5 separate regions of the Homo sapiens genome follow, and all the other regions are linked to region 3. Evidence: promoter capture Hi-C in 16 types of primary human blood cells and fetal thymus (Javierre and others, 2016). All regions are on one chromosome and are shown on one strand. The core of a region is centred on a gene start or on the middle of the fragment in contact, and the rest is flanking DNA. Distances in the headings are between cores, read along the strand shown.

Region 1 (2,700 bases), core at 151-2,650, 160 kb before region 3:
TGGAAGCTAAGCGGCGGGGATCTCTGGTGGTTGGCTACCACAGCTGCGATATTCAGTTTCGGTAAGAATGGGAGGAAATCGGTGTTCTCAACCACTACTGCTGGGTGTGTAAATTATCTTTAGAGGGCAATTTGACAGTAGCTAGTCAGATTTAAAATGCACATACCTTTGCATGTATTTTATGTAAGAGAAATGTGTAGAAGGATGCTGATTGTAGCAGGGCTTTTAATAACCAAAAAAAGGGAAAAATCTAAATATCTGTAAATAATAGAATGGATAAATTACGGAATTCTGTGAAGCAGTTAAAAATAAGTGTAGCAGAACCATGACTGACCAAGGAATGATTTCAGTTAAAAAACAAGCGGGAAAAGGATATACTTTCATTTACATAAAAAAGCAAACACATGAAAACTGTGTGTGTGTATATGTTTCTGTGTATACATATATAGACATGAAAATCCACAGGAAACCTTTAGAAGGACACATGTAAAATTTTTGGCAGTTAACTTGGAAAATAATGTAGAGCATGGGAAGTGGAGGCAGCACTTTTACTTTATAATATTTTGTTATATCGTTTTAAAACAATTTCGTTATGCCCAGAGCAAGTCTTCAGAAAACTAAGAGAGAAGAGAGCAAGGTCGCAACTTCTAAGTCTGTTTTCACTGTGGCTTAAGAAATAGGAAAGGGGTGTTGGACACACAGCCATTAAAATACTGGCTCCCACTTAATTCTTCAGTTTCATCATCTATAAAATGGGGATAAGATACAGTATCTACTGTACAATGCCATCATGATCAAATGAGACAATGAAAGTCACTGGCACTTAGGAAAAACTCAAAAAGTGGTGACTATTGGTTTAGGTCTATTCTAAATCTCTTATTAGAAATAAAACTGTTTTGGTCAATATGCAGAGTGTAACTGAATACATGCTAAGAGAAATAAAACCAATCATGACCTGTATTGGTTTCCTCTTCTTCTCCCAAAAGTATTTAAGGAAGGTGTGCTACCTGGATCCGTTATTAGTTTATGAAGAGTGTATCTGCTGGTACTATAAAATCAAAACACAACTTATTGTTGTAGACGAAAAAAAGTCTTTAGAAAAGCTTAACTATGGTTAGAAAAATCAATTTCAATTATAACACCTCAACTTGAACATTTCTATTAAAGTTTCTATATTTCAATATTAATAACTTCTAACTTCAATTGTAACACCTTCTCAACTTGAACATTTCTATTAAAGTATCTATATTCACATAACACCTATTAAAACAGCAACCCACTTACAGGTCTCTGATTCTATAAACTTGCAACTTGATAGATGTAGAAATGAATCTTGCCTACACCACTGATTCATTGAATTGTCAGGACAGGTCATTTCCCTTCTCTGGGCTTGAGTTTTCCTCATTGGAAAAGTAAGAAATCTGGGTTAAATTATCTCTAACAACCCTTTCTATCTCAGAAGTGTTCTATGACAAAGTGTTCTCTGGCCCTCCTTTAATCAGAAGCACTATTTTCCTTGTGAATTGATCAAAGCATCAGATGTACTTCTCGTTCACCATGAGAATGTGGTTTCCAGCAAAGGACTTTCTTAAAAATAAAACACTGCAGCAACAAGCAGTGTCTGTGGAATTCATCATGATGGGATCTGACCTGAAACCAGGGTATAGATTCTTTTTAAATAATGTGCAATGGCAGTGGAAAGCTTATTAATCAGAAGATCCTAAATAAAATGTACCTTAATATTGGTCGCTCACTGAGGGGTCTGTACTATCGGCCATTCTTTGCCTAAGTTACTTTTGCCTTACCAGTTTACTGTCACTTAACTTTTCACATCATCAAGAACTGTGTTGTCCCATACCTTCTGTACCATTTCCAAACTTTTCTGAATAATAAAATATCTACTAACATATATTGGGTAGGCTCAGGGTTGAAAATCTCATGAAATATATTTATGAAAAGTGTTTTTGGCTGGGCGCAGTGGCTCACGCCTGTAATCCCAGCACTTTGGGAGGCCGAGGCAGGCAGATCATGAGGTCAGGAGATCGAGACCATCCTGGCTAACACGGTGAAACCCCGTCTCTACTAAAAATACAAAAAATTAGCCAGGCGTGGTGGTGGGCGCCTGTAGTCCCAACTACTTGGGAGGCTGAGGCAGGAAAATGGAGTGAACCCGGGAGGCAGAGCTTGCAGTGAGCCAAGATTGTGCCACTGCACTCCAGCCTGGGTGACAGAATGAGACTCGGTCTCAAAAACAAACAAACAAACAAAACAAAACAAAACAAAAAAAGTAAAGTGTTTTAGGTCTTTAATCCATCTTGAGTTAATTTTTGTATAAGGAAGGGGACCAGTTTCAGTTTTCTGCATATGGCTAGCCAGTTTTCCCAGGACCATTTATTAAATACGGAATTCTTTCCCCATTGCTTGTTTTTGTCAGGTTTGTCGCAATGGTTGTAGATGTGTATTTTTCTGAGGTCTCTGTTCTGTTCCATTGGTCTATATGTCTGTTTTAGTACCAATACCATGCTGTTTTGATTACTCTAGCCTTGTAGTATAGTTTGAAGTCAGGGAACATGATGCCTCCAGCTTTGTTCTCTTTGCTTAGGATTGTCATGGCTATACGGACTCTTTTGTGGTTCCATATGAAATTTAATTTTTTTCTAATTCTGTGAACAATGTTAATGGTAGTTTGATGGGACCAGC
Region 2 (2,700 bases), core at 66-2,565, 190 kb before region 3:
TGAGCCAAGATTGCGCCACTGCACTCCGGCCTGGGCGACAGAGCGAGACTCCGTCTCAAAAAGAAAAAAAAAAAAGATCAATACTTCCCAATTTGGAAACTTACTAGAAAGCCACAGTAATGAAGACAGTAAGGAACTGGCATAAGAATAGACATATAAGTCAATGGAATAGAATTGAGAGTCCAGAAATAAACCCATATATCTACAGTCAAATGATTTTCAACCAGGGTGCCAAGATCATTCAATAGGGAAAGAATAGTCTTTTCAACAAATGGTGCTGAAACAACTGGATAGCCACATGCAAAAGACTAAAGTTGGACCCTTACTTCACATTATATACAAAAATTAATCCCAAATGGATCAAAGGCCTTAATGGGAGAGTCAAAACTATAAAACTCTCAGATAAAAATATAGGGATAAATATTTATGAACTTGGATTTCGCAATAAATTCTTAAACACCAAACCCATGAGCCTCAGTAAAAATAAATAAATTGGACTTTATCAAAATTAAGCTTTTGTGCTGCAAAGGATACCATTAAGAGAGTGAAAAGACAACCCATGGAATGGGAGAAAATATTTGCAAATCATATCTAATGGACTTGTTTTCAGTGAAAAACTCTTACAATCCCCAATAATAAAACAAGTAACTCAATTAAAAAATCTGAATTGACATTTCTCCAAAGAAGATATACAAATAGCCAATAAATGCATGAAAAGATGCTCTATATCAATAGTCATCAGGGAAACACAAATGAAAATCACAATGAGCTTCCACTTCACACCTGTAAAATGGCTATAACCAAAGACATGGAGGCTAGTAAATGTTGGCCAGAAAGTGGAGTGAAGAACACTCATACACTGCTGGTAGGCATGTAAAATGGTGGAAAAGTTTGACAGTTCCTCAGAAATTTCAATGCAGAACCATCATTTGACTCAGCAATTTCACTTCTAGCTGTATACCCAAGAGAAGTGAAAACATATGCTCACAAAAAAAGCTTGTACGTGGATGTTCATAGCAGTATTATTCACAGTATCCAAAAGGTGGAAACAATCCAAATACCCATCAATGGATGAATGAATAAACAAAATGTGGTATATCTACGTAATGGGATATTATTTGGCCATCAAATGAATGAAATACTATTACAAGCTACAATATGGACAAATTTTGAAAACATGCTAAAATGAAAGAAGCCAGCCATGAAAGATCACATATTATATGATTTCATTTATATGAAATATCCAGAAGAGGCAAATATAGACAGACAGTATATTAGTGATTTATTAAGCCTGGGGGAGGACAGGATTGGAGGATTGGGAGTGACAGCTTAAGGGCACAGGGTTTCTTTTCAAGGTGATGAAAATGTTCTAAAATTGACTGTGGTGAGGGTTGCACAACTCTTTGAATATACTTTGTGTAACCTTGAAATGGGTGAATTTTATGGTATATTAATTATATCTCAGTGAAGCCATTTCCCCCAAAAATCTGTAGCACAGGCCTCAAAATGTGCTCAGTGGAATGGTTGCTTCCATGGACCATGGGTTATTGGTCCACAAAGCGCTAAGGAGCTTGCACCACTATAAAAATGTAACAAGACTTTCTTGAAAAGAAAGTGTGCTGCTTATCCAAGCACAAGCTTATCTCATTCATAGTCTCCTGTGAGTAGCACTGATCTATCGCACTACACACACCAAATAGAATGGTTTTTAGCGTCTCTGGTGACTATGGCTACAGAGACTAAAGTGAGGAGGGAAAGCAATCTTGTAACAGTGGCTACTCCCAAATTTCCATGTTAGCAGGTAGAGCATGAGACCATGACTGAGAGAAGAGAGTTGTTAGCGAAGTGCCAAAGTTGGAAGCAGGGGTAGGGTATGGAAGATGAAGAATAGAAACAGAAATATAAAGCCAATCCAGAGCTGGAAGTTGAACAAGAGAACCACAGCTAAGAAAATAGCAGTAACAATGTATTCAAATTTAGCTTCTTTAAGAAGCATCTGGAGAAAAAAATGTGGGTGACAAGCTGCCACCCTCACTGCCCTGGTTGGGATATAGAAGGACTTGAGAGGAGGGTCAAGAATCTATACAACAAGCAGTACAGACAATTTCAATGCAAGTAGTCCTTGAACCCCACATTAAAACAGTGAACTAGAGGAAGAAGCAGAAAATAAATGCACACAGCAGGGATGGAATCATTTTATAGAAGAGATTTTATGGGATTTTATGGAGCTGAATCCCTGGTAGTCACAGGAGGACTCTTAAAATTGAAGCTGAGTTCATTTTTGAAAAAAGAAAAAAATCTATGCTTAGCTATTTTGCAATATAAGATTTTGACTTACTCTTACTGTAATTACAAATCAGGACTTTAAGCAATGTCCTGTATTTTTTTTAAAGCAACAACATGAAGTCACACAATGTCCTATTTTTAGTAAAAAAAAAAAAAAGAAAAAGACGTTAGGATGTAAAAAACAAAATAAAAGCTATAGTTTAAATTTCTAGCTCTTCTTAGAGTTGTAGAGGTATATTTCATCAACAATGTATAACAATTAAAGTAATTTCAATTAGGCTAAATATCAGGTTAAAAAGAGCTATGAGTTAGGGTTCAAGTTTAAAGAGAGCTACAAACAGGGAGTCTAGGCCTTAAATAAACCAACCTACAAGTATTTATTGAACACCAACCACATAACCATCATTTTATAGG
Region 3 (2,710 bases), core at 208-2,707:
TCAGCATTCACTGACTTATAGAATTGTAGTTTTGAGAACCACGCTCAAACATTGTCAAAAAATTCTAGGGCATGTACCTTTTAAAATGATCTGTTGTGTTCTTTTCACTTTCCATTCTCTTTTGGTGCATGCTGCTGCTACTGTTTGCTGTTAAATGGTTGCTGGTTTCACTTCAGATGGGTGCAGGTTTGAGTTAACGAAGGTAAAAGCTAGGTCATTTGAGAACAATATGACTTTTCTGAAAGCTAAATCATAGAGAAACTGCCAGATATAAAAACAGATAAACTATACATTTAAAAACTCATTTTAATAAAAACATATTATGATAAAAAGATAATTCCAGTCTGTTTGATTCTAGAGTCTATTCTCTTAATTATATTGTTAAGCAACAAAATGGGGAAGGAAGCAAACTTAAGTTGAACTTTCTGAGCCTGAGTTTCATTTTCTATGAAATAAGGATAGTAATATCTCATTGAATTGCTGTGGGGACTAAATTAGATAATGTATGTAAAATGCAAAAGACAATCTATAAATGTTTACTTCTCTCCTGCCGTCCATCTAGCTCAAACTTGCACTAGAGGTGATTAGGTATTTAGAGTTCAAATAACTGAGTTGTGATGTCAGCAAAATCAAAATTAAGCAGACTGAATTTCCAGATGTGTCCAAATGTCAATGAAACCAATATTTAAGCAGAGATCTACTGGACTGCGCTGTAACTCCATAAGCCTTGAATAATTGAGGATTGACTGTAAACTGAGGATCTGTGTTCTGCATTATGACCTTGCATTAACAGAGACTAAACAATTGAAGGTTTGGAGGTAAGTGAAATAGCCTGGTGCCTGTAATATTTCAGGAGGAAATGCAACAATATAACAAGCAACACAAGTACTGATATTAATTGAGAAAGGTCTCATTTATCTCTCTGGAAAATTTCTCCCTTCAAATGCCACTTATCACGAGAGTGTGGATTCTCTGATGTATTTTAGTGATCACTCAGTTATCTTCAGTACTTGCTCTCCACCCTGGTCTTATAATACAGACTTTTCTGCGTTTTCAGTTGTTCCAGGCTCTAGTCACATCTCAGTTATGTGCAATAATAGTCATTGTGGAGTTGCTGCAAATCAAAATTTCCCAGGTAATACCAAGTCTCATTTAACTTCCAGAGCCATCCATCACCAAACATTTTATTGGAGAACCAAAAAGGGTGGAGTAGGGGAGCTGAGTGAATTTCTGAGTCTGCTGGAGTTGATAACTGTAAGTGTCATGGCCCCAGTATTACTAGCCATAGATAGAGATAATTTAAAAAATCATCCCTGTAACCCTAGGTACTGATTATCTATTGCTACATAGCAAGCCGCCTTGAAACACATGGCTTAAAATAACAATTTATTTTTATATCTCACAGTTCTGTGGCTTAACTGGTCTCAGCTTGGCATCTCTCTTGTAGTTGAAGTCAAATAGAGGCTAGGGCTACATTCGTCTAAAGGTTCAGTTGAGTTGGAATGTGGCATGGCTGGCAGTTGATGATGACTGTTTCCTAGGAGTTCTGCTGGAGCTACATGCCTGAACACCAACCAATAACCTTTTCATGTGGCTGAGACCTTTCATATGGCCACAGTCCTCAGAGACAGCATCCCAAGAGTGATCCTTTTAAGAGGCTCAGGTAGAAATTGCAAGGTGTTTTTACAGTCTTTTCAGAGGTTGGAGTGTCACTTCTGTCATATTCTGCTGGTTCAACAAGCCAGTAAAGCCAAGCCCAGAGTAAGGTAATAAGACTCCACTTCTTGATGAGGAAATGTCAAAGTCATATTGCGGAACAGCGTATTAGATAGGAGATACTATGGTGATCATCTTTGGAAGGTGCAATCTGCCACATCCAGTTCTTCTGTTCCAGATGCCAACAGAGCTCACCTGTATCCAGAACACTCCTGGGCTCTGGCTGGTTTAAATACTTTCTGCATTTACTGGTCAACTCAGAATAATTTATAATTAGTAAGATGTATAGAAGAAATCAGAAAGTATCAATTTTCATAACATATCATGATTCTTTCACAAATCAGACATTCTTGCATTCTTATTCTTGTTGCCAGTGTTTTGCTCCATATGACATTCACAATTCTGTATTCATGTGTACTTTGGCCACTGAAATCCTGTTGTCCTCTTTACCTCTGCGTTGACCTTTTTGTGTTTCAGATGCTTGACTTGCTCTTGATCCCTGGTACCCAAGACTTTCATCACCTCTGCTTTCAAAGTTTGGCCTCCAGGCCTTTGAACTACCTCTAATAACTGTTTTTTTTTTTTTTTTTTTTTTTGAGAGGAGTCTCGCTCTGTCTCCCAGGCTGGAGTGCAGTGGTGCAATCTTGGCTCACTGCAAACTCTGCTCCCGGGTTCACGTCATTCTCCCACCTCAGCCTCCTGAGTAGCTGGGACTACGGGTGCCCGCCACCACGCCTGGCTAATTTTTTGTATTTTTAGTAGAGACGGAGTTTCACCATTCACAGGATGGTCTCGATCTCCTGACCTCATGATGTGCCCGCCTCGGCCTCCCAAAGTGCTGGGATTACAGGCATGAGCCACCGCGCCCGGCAATAACTGTTAGCTTAGCTTCCGTAGCTGCTGCCTTTACCACTTGACGTACAGATAATTGATGCGAATGCAGAGGAAACCTGAATGTTTGGCTTTCCTATCTTGACCCCACTTCTACCCAGTC
Region 4 (2,719 bases), core at 29-2,528, 220 kb before region 3:
AATATACACAAAGAGAAATTAGAAGAAAATCAAAACATGTCACTAAAAAAAAAAAAAATCAATGAAACACAAAAGAAGGCAGCAAGGGAAGAAAGATGGACAAAAAAGCTATAAGACATATAAAAAAATAATCAAAATGGCAATAGTGAGTCCATGTCAATAATTACTTTAAATATAAATTGGGCCAGGAGCGGTGGCTCACATCTGTAATTCCAGCACTTTGGGAGACCAAGGTGGGCAGATCACTTGAGGTCAGGAGTTAAGAGACCAGCATGGCCAATATGGTAAAACGCCATCTCTACTAAAAATACAAAAATTAGCCAGGCATGGTGGCAGCCACCTGTAATCCCAGCTACTCGGGAGGCTGAGGCAGAAGAATCACTTGAACCTGAGGCAGAGGTTGCAGTGAGCCAAGATTGTGCCACTGTACTTCAGCCTGGACAACAGAGGGAGATTGTGTCTCAAAAAAAAAAAAAAAGATTAAGTGCCCAAATAAAAGACATAGATTGGCCAATGGAATAAAAAAATAAGATCCAACTACAGGTTGTTTACAAGACATCTGCTTCAGATCCAAAGATGCACAAAGGCTACAAATAAAAGGATGGAAAAAGATATTCCAGAAAACTGGAATCTGAAGAGAGTGGCCGTACTTACATCAGACAACATAGAGTTTAAGATAAAAACTGTCACAAGAGACAGAGTAGGACATTATATGATAAAAGGGTCAATTCACCAGTAAGATATGCATCTAACATTACAGTTCCCAAATTTATGAGCAAACACTGACAGAAGTGAAGGGAGAGAGAGACCAACACAATAATAGTAGGAGACTTCACTAGCCCACTTTCAGTTATGGATAGAACAACCACACAGAAGATCAATAAAGACACAAAGAACTTGAACAACACTATAGACCAATTGGACCTAACAGACATACTCAGAACACTCCAATCAACAACAGGAGAATACACATTCTTTTCAATTGCACTTGGAACATTCTCCAACAAAGACCACATGTTACGTGACAAAACAAGTCTTAACAAACTTAAGAAGACTATAATCATATAAGGTATATTTTCCATCAAAAATGGAATTAAACTAGAAATCAATAGTAGAAGGAAAACAGTAAAATCCACAAATAAGTGGAAGTTAAACAACTCACTCTCATATAACCAATGGGTGAGAGATGAAATCACAAGCGAATTTAGAAAATATCAGGAGACAAATGAAAACCAAAACACAATAGAGCAATATTTATGTAATGCAGCTAAAACAGTATTACACCTAACATTAACAATCAGTAAAGATCTCGAATTAACAACCTAACTTTAGACCCTTTCAAAGAACTAGGAAAAGAGAAACTAAACCAAATTAATGAAGGGAAATAAAGATTAAAACAAAGATAAATAAAATAGAGAATAGAAAAACAATGAGGAAAAAAAATCAATGAAACCAAGAGTTTGTTTTTTGAAAAAATTAACAAAACTGACAAATCGTTAGCTAGATTACATAAGAAAAAAAAGAGATAATCAAATAACTAAAATTAGAAACGAAAGGGGACATTATAATTGATGTCACAGAAATAAAGATTATAAAAGACTTACATGACCACACATATGGCAACAGATTAGATAACCTAGAAGAAATGAATACATTCCAAACATATAATCTACCAAGACTGAATCATGAATAAAAAATCTCAACAGCCCTATAACAAATAAGAAGATGAAACAGTAATCAAAAACTTCCCAACAAAGAAAAGCCCAGTACCAGATGGCTTCACTTGAAAATTCTACCAAATAATCAAAGAAGAATTAACTCTTCAAACTCTTACCAAAAAATGAGGGGCAGGGAACACTTCCAGAATCATTCTATGAAGCCAGCATTTCTCTGATACAAAAACTAGAAGACAGAACAAGAGGACTACAGAACAATACCCGTGATAAAGACTGATGCAAAAAATCCCCCCAAAAATACTGGCAAACTCAATTCAATAGCACTTTTTTTTTTTAAGAGAGGGTCTCATTTTGTTGCCCACACTGGAGTGCAGTGGCATGACAATGGCTCACTGCAGCCTCAACCTCCCAGGCTCAAGTGATCCTCCCACCTCAGCACACCCACCCTCCTCCTTAATACCCCACAACCCCTGCCCCAAGTAGCTAGTACTACAACTGTGTGCCTCCACACCTGGCTAATTTTAAAATTTCTTCTAGAGACAAGGTTTTACCATATTGTCCAGGATGGTCTTAAACTCCTGGCCGCAAGCGATTCTCCTGCATTGGCCTCCCAAAGTGCTGGGATTACAGGCAGGAGCCACCATGCCTGACCCAACAGCACATTAAAAGGATTACACACAATAAGCAAATGGGATTTATACTTGAAATGCAAGGATGTTTCCAAATATGAAAACAAATCATTGTACTACACTATATTAACAAAATGAAGGGCAAAAAACACATTATCATCTCAATTGATGTGCAAAAAGCATTTGACAAAATTCAACACACTTTCCTGATAAAAACACATAACAAACTAGAAATAGAAAGAAAACACCTCAATATAATAAAAGCAATACACACAAAGCCAACAGCTAACAGCACATATACTGGTGAAAGACTAAAAACTTTTCCTCTAAGATCAGGAGGAACAAGGCAAGGATGCCCAATATTATCAATATTCAAGATAGTATTAGAAGTCCTAGTCAGAGCAATTAAGACAA
Region 5 (2,700 bases), core at 4-2,503, 240 kb before region 3:
TCATGATACATGCTAATCAGCTTTTACTCAACTACTGTAAAATTAAAGCTAAAATATAAATACATGAAAAAGGATAACTTTTACATATGAGAAACATTCTATTATAATAAACTCCATGAGGAATATGCATTGCTCTTGTTACAAATTAATTTTATTAAAATTAACACAGTGAAAACAGATCCACACATGAACCTACTAGCCGGCAAATTCCAGACGTTGACATTTCTGATATCCTTCAATACAAAACGTGAGTCTTTAATTCACTATGACAAAAAGTATTAACCTAAAAGGAACATTAGGATAACCTTGGTAACTTATGAATAGACTTTTATTCTTTAAATAGCTTGGTAATAAAGATTTCAACATTACATATTGTTTGTACTCTGCAGTGAATCAATCTGTGGCAAGATGTTAACCCAGACAGAAAAAGGAAAAGAAAGTTAAGCATCTCCAACTCTAAGTCCTAAAAGTTTTTTTATCATCCTCGGTGATTTGATGTTAGGTGTATAAAACAGTTTTCTGGAATGTTTAAGACATAAACAAAAGAGGTGAACTGTGTTGTCAAATTTAAACTTAGTGCACCTAAAATGAAAAAGTATAAAATTTAAAATCAAATCACTTCATCAAGGAAACAATTGTTATGAGGACAGAAATTTGGGAAAGCATTAATATAGCATAATTTGTACTCAGAATTCATTAAGATTAGATCCAAAAGTACTATTTCTACAGGCCTTAAGTTAGAACCTAAAAAACAACTTTTGTTTTTGTTTCTGATAATCTACTTTTTGGAATTTGAGAAATACATTAGTTCTAGGGCAGTTATAGAGCATTTCCCCACCAAAATTCCAAAGAGGAGAGGCTGTGATTGATTCATCTCCATTATTTATTTGTGCTCTCACCTTATTTTAGAGAAGTTAAGGTAGCCTAAAAAAATTATGTGCAAAGCAAAGCAATTTAAGAACATGTAGAAAATAGTACATTTTGTTATACATGTTACCACAATTTTTAAACATGTATAAAGATAAGAATCAGTAGATCAAGTTGAAATGAGAGTAGAAAAGATGAAAGAGTTGCATAAGGATCTGGACATCTGTTAGGGGAAATCTGACCTTTACAATGGTCAATACAAAGCTAAAAATGCAATTAGTTACATAATTCCCTACTTTAGTTCTTGGCAAAACAATTGTTTTAGGAAACATTAAAGTCTACCCTTTAAAGTTATCAAATTAAGCATATTAGTTTGTAGTGCAAGCATGCTTATACCCACAGTTAATACGATGAAAGAAACTAATCACAAATAAAGTAAATCAAGAAAACTACCTAATCAACTCTTAATAACAACAATAAAAAAAATACAAGTTTTACTCACTGCTTTAAAAAATTTTTCTGACAGCTGGCATTTAGACCCAAAACTTTTGGGCTGCAGAGTCATGTTTTCCTTAGTCTGAGAATCAAAAGTTGGATTTTCAATAAGGCAATTAATAAAAACCCATATATGGTTTTTTACCTGTTGAAAACATACCCAAAAAAGTCAATATCAGAGCTGATATTTAGTAATTCAGTATATATATAATGCATATGTATGCATCATGTACAATATATAACACATCCCTTACTTGAAATGGTTTCACTGATACACCAGCTTTGTTCTTTTTCTTAACTACTTCAATCAGTTTACCAACAACTTGATCTACCACATAATCCACGTGCCGTCCACCCTAAAGAAAAAAAAATATATGAAATCTGAAATCCTGTATTGTTAAAGTAGCAAAATACTTTATCTGTATTATAAACCCTATTTTCTAAAAGAGTAATAGAGTCTCAGAACGAGAGTTGAGATTTTAAAAAAATAAGACATTTTGGCTACAGAGCCAATAAACCAACCGCTGTGTTTTTTTTGTTTGTTTGTTTGTTTGCTTTCCTCACTTCAATTCTAACACCAATTCTCAGGTGCTTTCAACACCAGCAACCAATTCTCTGATTCTCCAGACACCAAATGGATGTTCAACAATGTAATTCAATTTTGATACTAACTACCTGGAGTTAGCACAAGTATTTAGGGTTGGTTAAGGGCTCAATCCCACAGGACTCCCCACACTTCAGATGCCAGTTACAAGTCCTAGGCCTCCTGTACTTCTAACGAACCTATGACCCACTCCTCAGGAATGATAATTTGCTGGAACAGGTCACAGAACTCAAGAACACACTTTACTTCATTTACAAGTTTTTTATATAGGATCCAGCAATAATAGCCAAATGGAAGAGATGCATAGGGCATAGTACAGGGGAAAGGGTACACAAAGCTCCATGCCTTACCCAGACATGCCACCCTCTTGGCACCTCAAATGTATTCACCAACCTAGGAGTTCTGTGAACTCCATTGTTCAGGAGTTTTTACAGAGCTTTATCACATAGCCATAATTGATTTTTAACTCAGTCACCAGCCCCCTCTCCTCTCCCCAGAGGTTGGGGAAGGTGGGGCTAAAAGTTACAGAAAAAGGAATTTGTTATTCTAAATTTCATAAAATATAAATATGTTCAACTACAAACACTAGTCATATAAATTTATTTCTCAATAATTGTTTAAATAAATTTTAATACAGCAATTTCATAGAAAATAGGTTTTTGTTTTCATAAGTCAATTCTTATTTAACAAAAACAGATTTGGGTTTTTTGGGGGTTGTGGATATTGTTATTTGT

Evidence for each region. Contacts are between HindIII fragments. The CHiCAGO score rates a contact against its expected background, and 5 or more counts as called.
Region 1: a fragment that was not itself captured here is called in contact with the fragment with the promoter of LINC00692 in region 3 in 1 of 17 cell types (activated CD4 T cells); the score reaches 5.2 in activated CD4 T cells.
Region 2: a contact is called between a fragment that was not itself captured here and the fragment with the promoter of LINC00692 in region 3, in 3 of 17 cell types (naive B cells, activated CD4 T cells and total CD4 T cells). The highest score is 7.0, in naive B cells.
Region 4: a contact is called between a fragment that was not itself captured here and the fragment with the promoter of LINC00692 in region 3, in 10 of 17 cell types (naive CD4 T cells, total CD4 T cells, naive CD8 T cells and 7 more). The highest score is 8.6, in naive CD4 T cells.
Region 5: a fragment that was not itself captured here is called in contact with the fragment with the promoter of LINC00692 in region 3 in 2 of 17 cell types (total CD4 T cells and activated CD4 T cells); the score reaches 5.8 in total CD4 T cells.

The regions. Positions count from the first base shown.
Region 1 is chr3:25,713,727-25,716,426 of GRCh38, forward strand. No RefSeq gene overlaps it. Among named protein-coding and RNA genes, the nearest start is that of MIR4442, 50 kb to the left of the region's middle. The HindIII fragment of the contact is 599 bases long and covers 1,102-1,700 here.
Region 2 is chr3:25,683,166-25,685,865 of GRCh38, forward strand. No RefSeq gene overlaps it. Among named protein-coding and RNA genes, the nearest start is that of MIR4442, 20 kb to the left of the region's middle. The HindIII fragment of the contact is 642 bases long and covers 995-1,636 here.
Region 3 is chr3:25,872,238-25,874,947 of GRCh38, forward strand. LINC00692 (long intergenic non-protein coding RNA 692) reads right to left here and starts at 1,458. Exons shown (of 8, transcript NR_034055.1): 1 at 1,404-1,458; 2 at 78-245. It overlaps LOC124909357 (a long non-coding RNA gene), which reads left to right and starts at 1,541. Exons shown (of 2, transcript XR_007095849.1): 1 at 1,541-1,766. The HindIII fragment of the contact is 8,581 bases long and covers 1-2,710 here.
Region 4 is chr3:25,651,402-25,654,120 of GRCh38, forward strand. All of the region lies in intron 1 of TOP2B (DNA topoisomerase II beta), which reads right to left. Among named protein-coding and RNA genes, the nearest start is that of TOP2B, 12 kb to the right of the region's middle. The HindIII fragment of the contact is 3,592 bases long and covers 1-2,719 here.
Region 5 is chr3:25,631,077-25,633,776 of GRCh38, forward strand. It overlaps TOP2B (DNA topoisomerase II beta), which reads right to left. Exons shown (of 36, transcript NM_001330700.2): 9 at 1,617-1,718; 10 at 1,370-1,507. Among named protein-coding and RNA genes, the nearest start is that of TOP2B, 32 kb to the right of the region's middle. The HindIII fragment of the contact is 4,013 bases long and covers 1-2,700 here.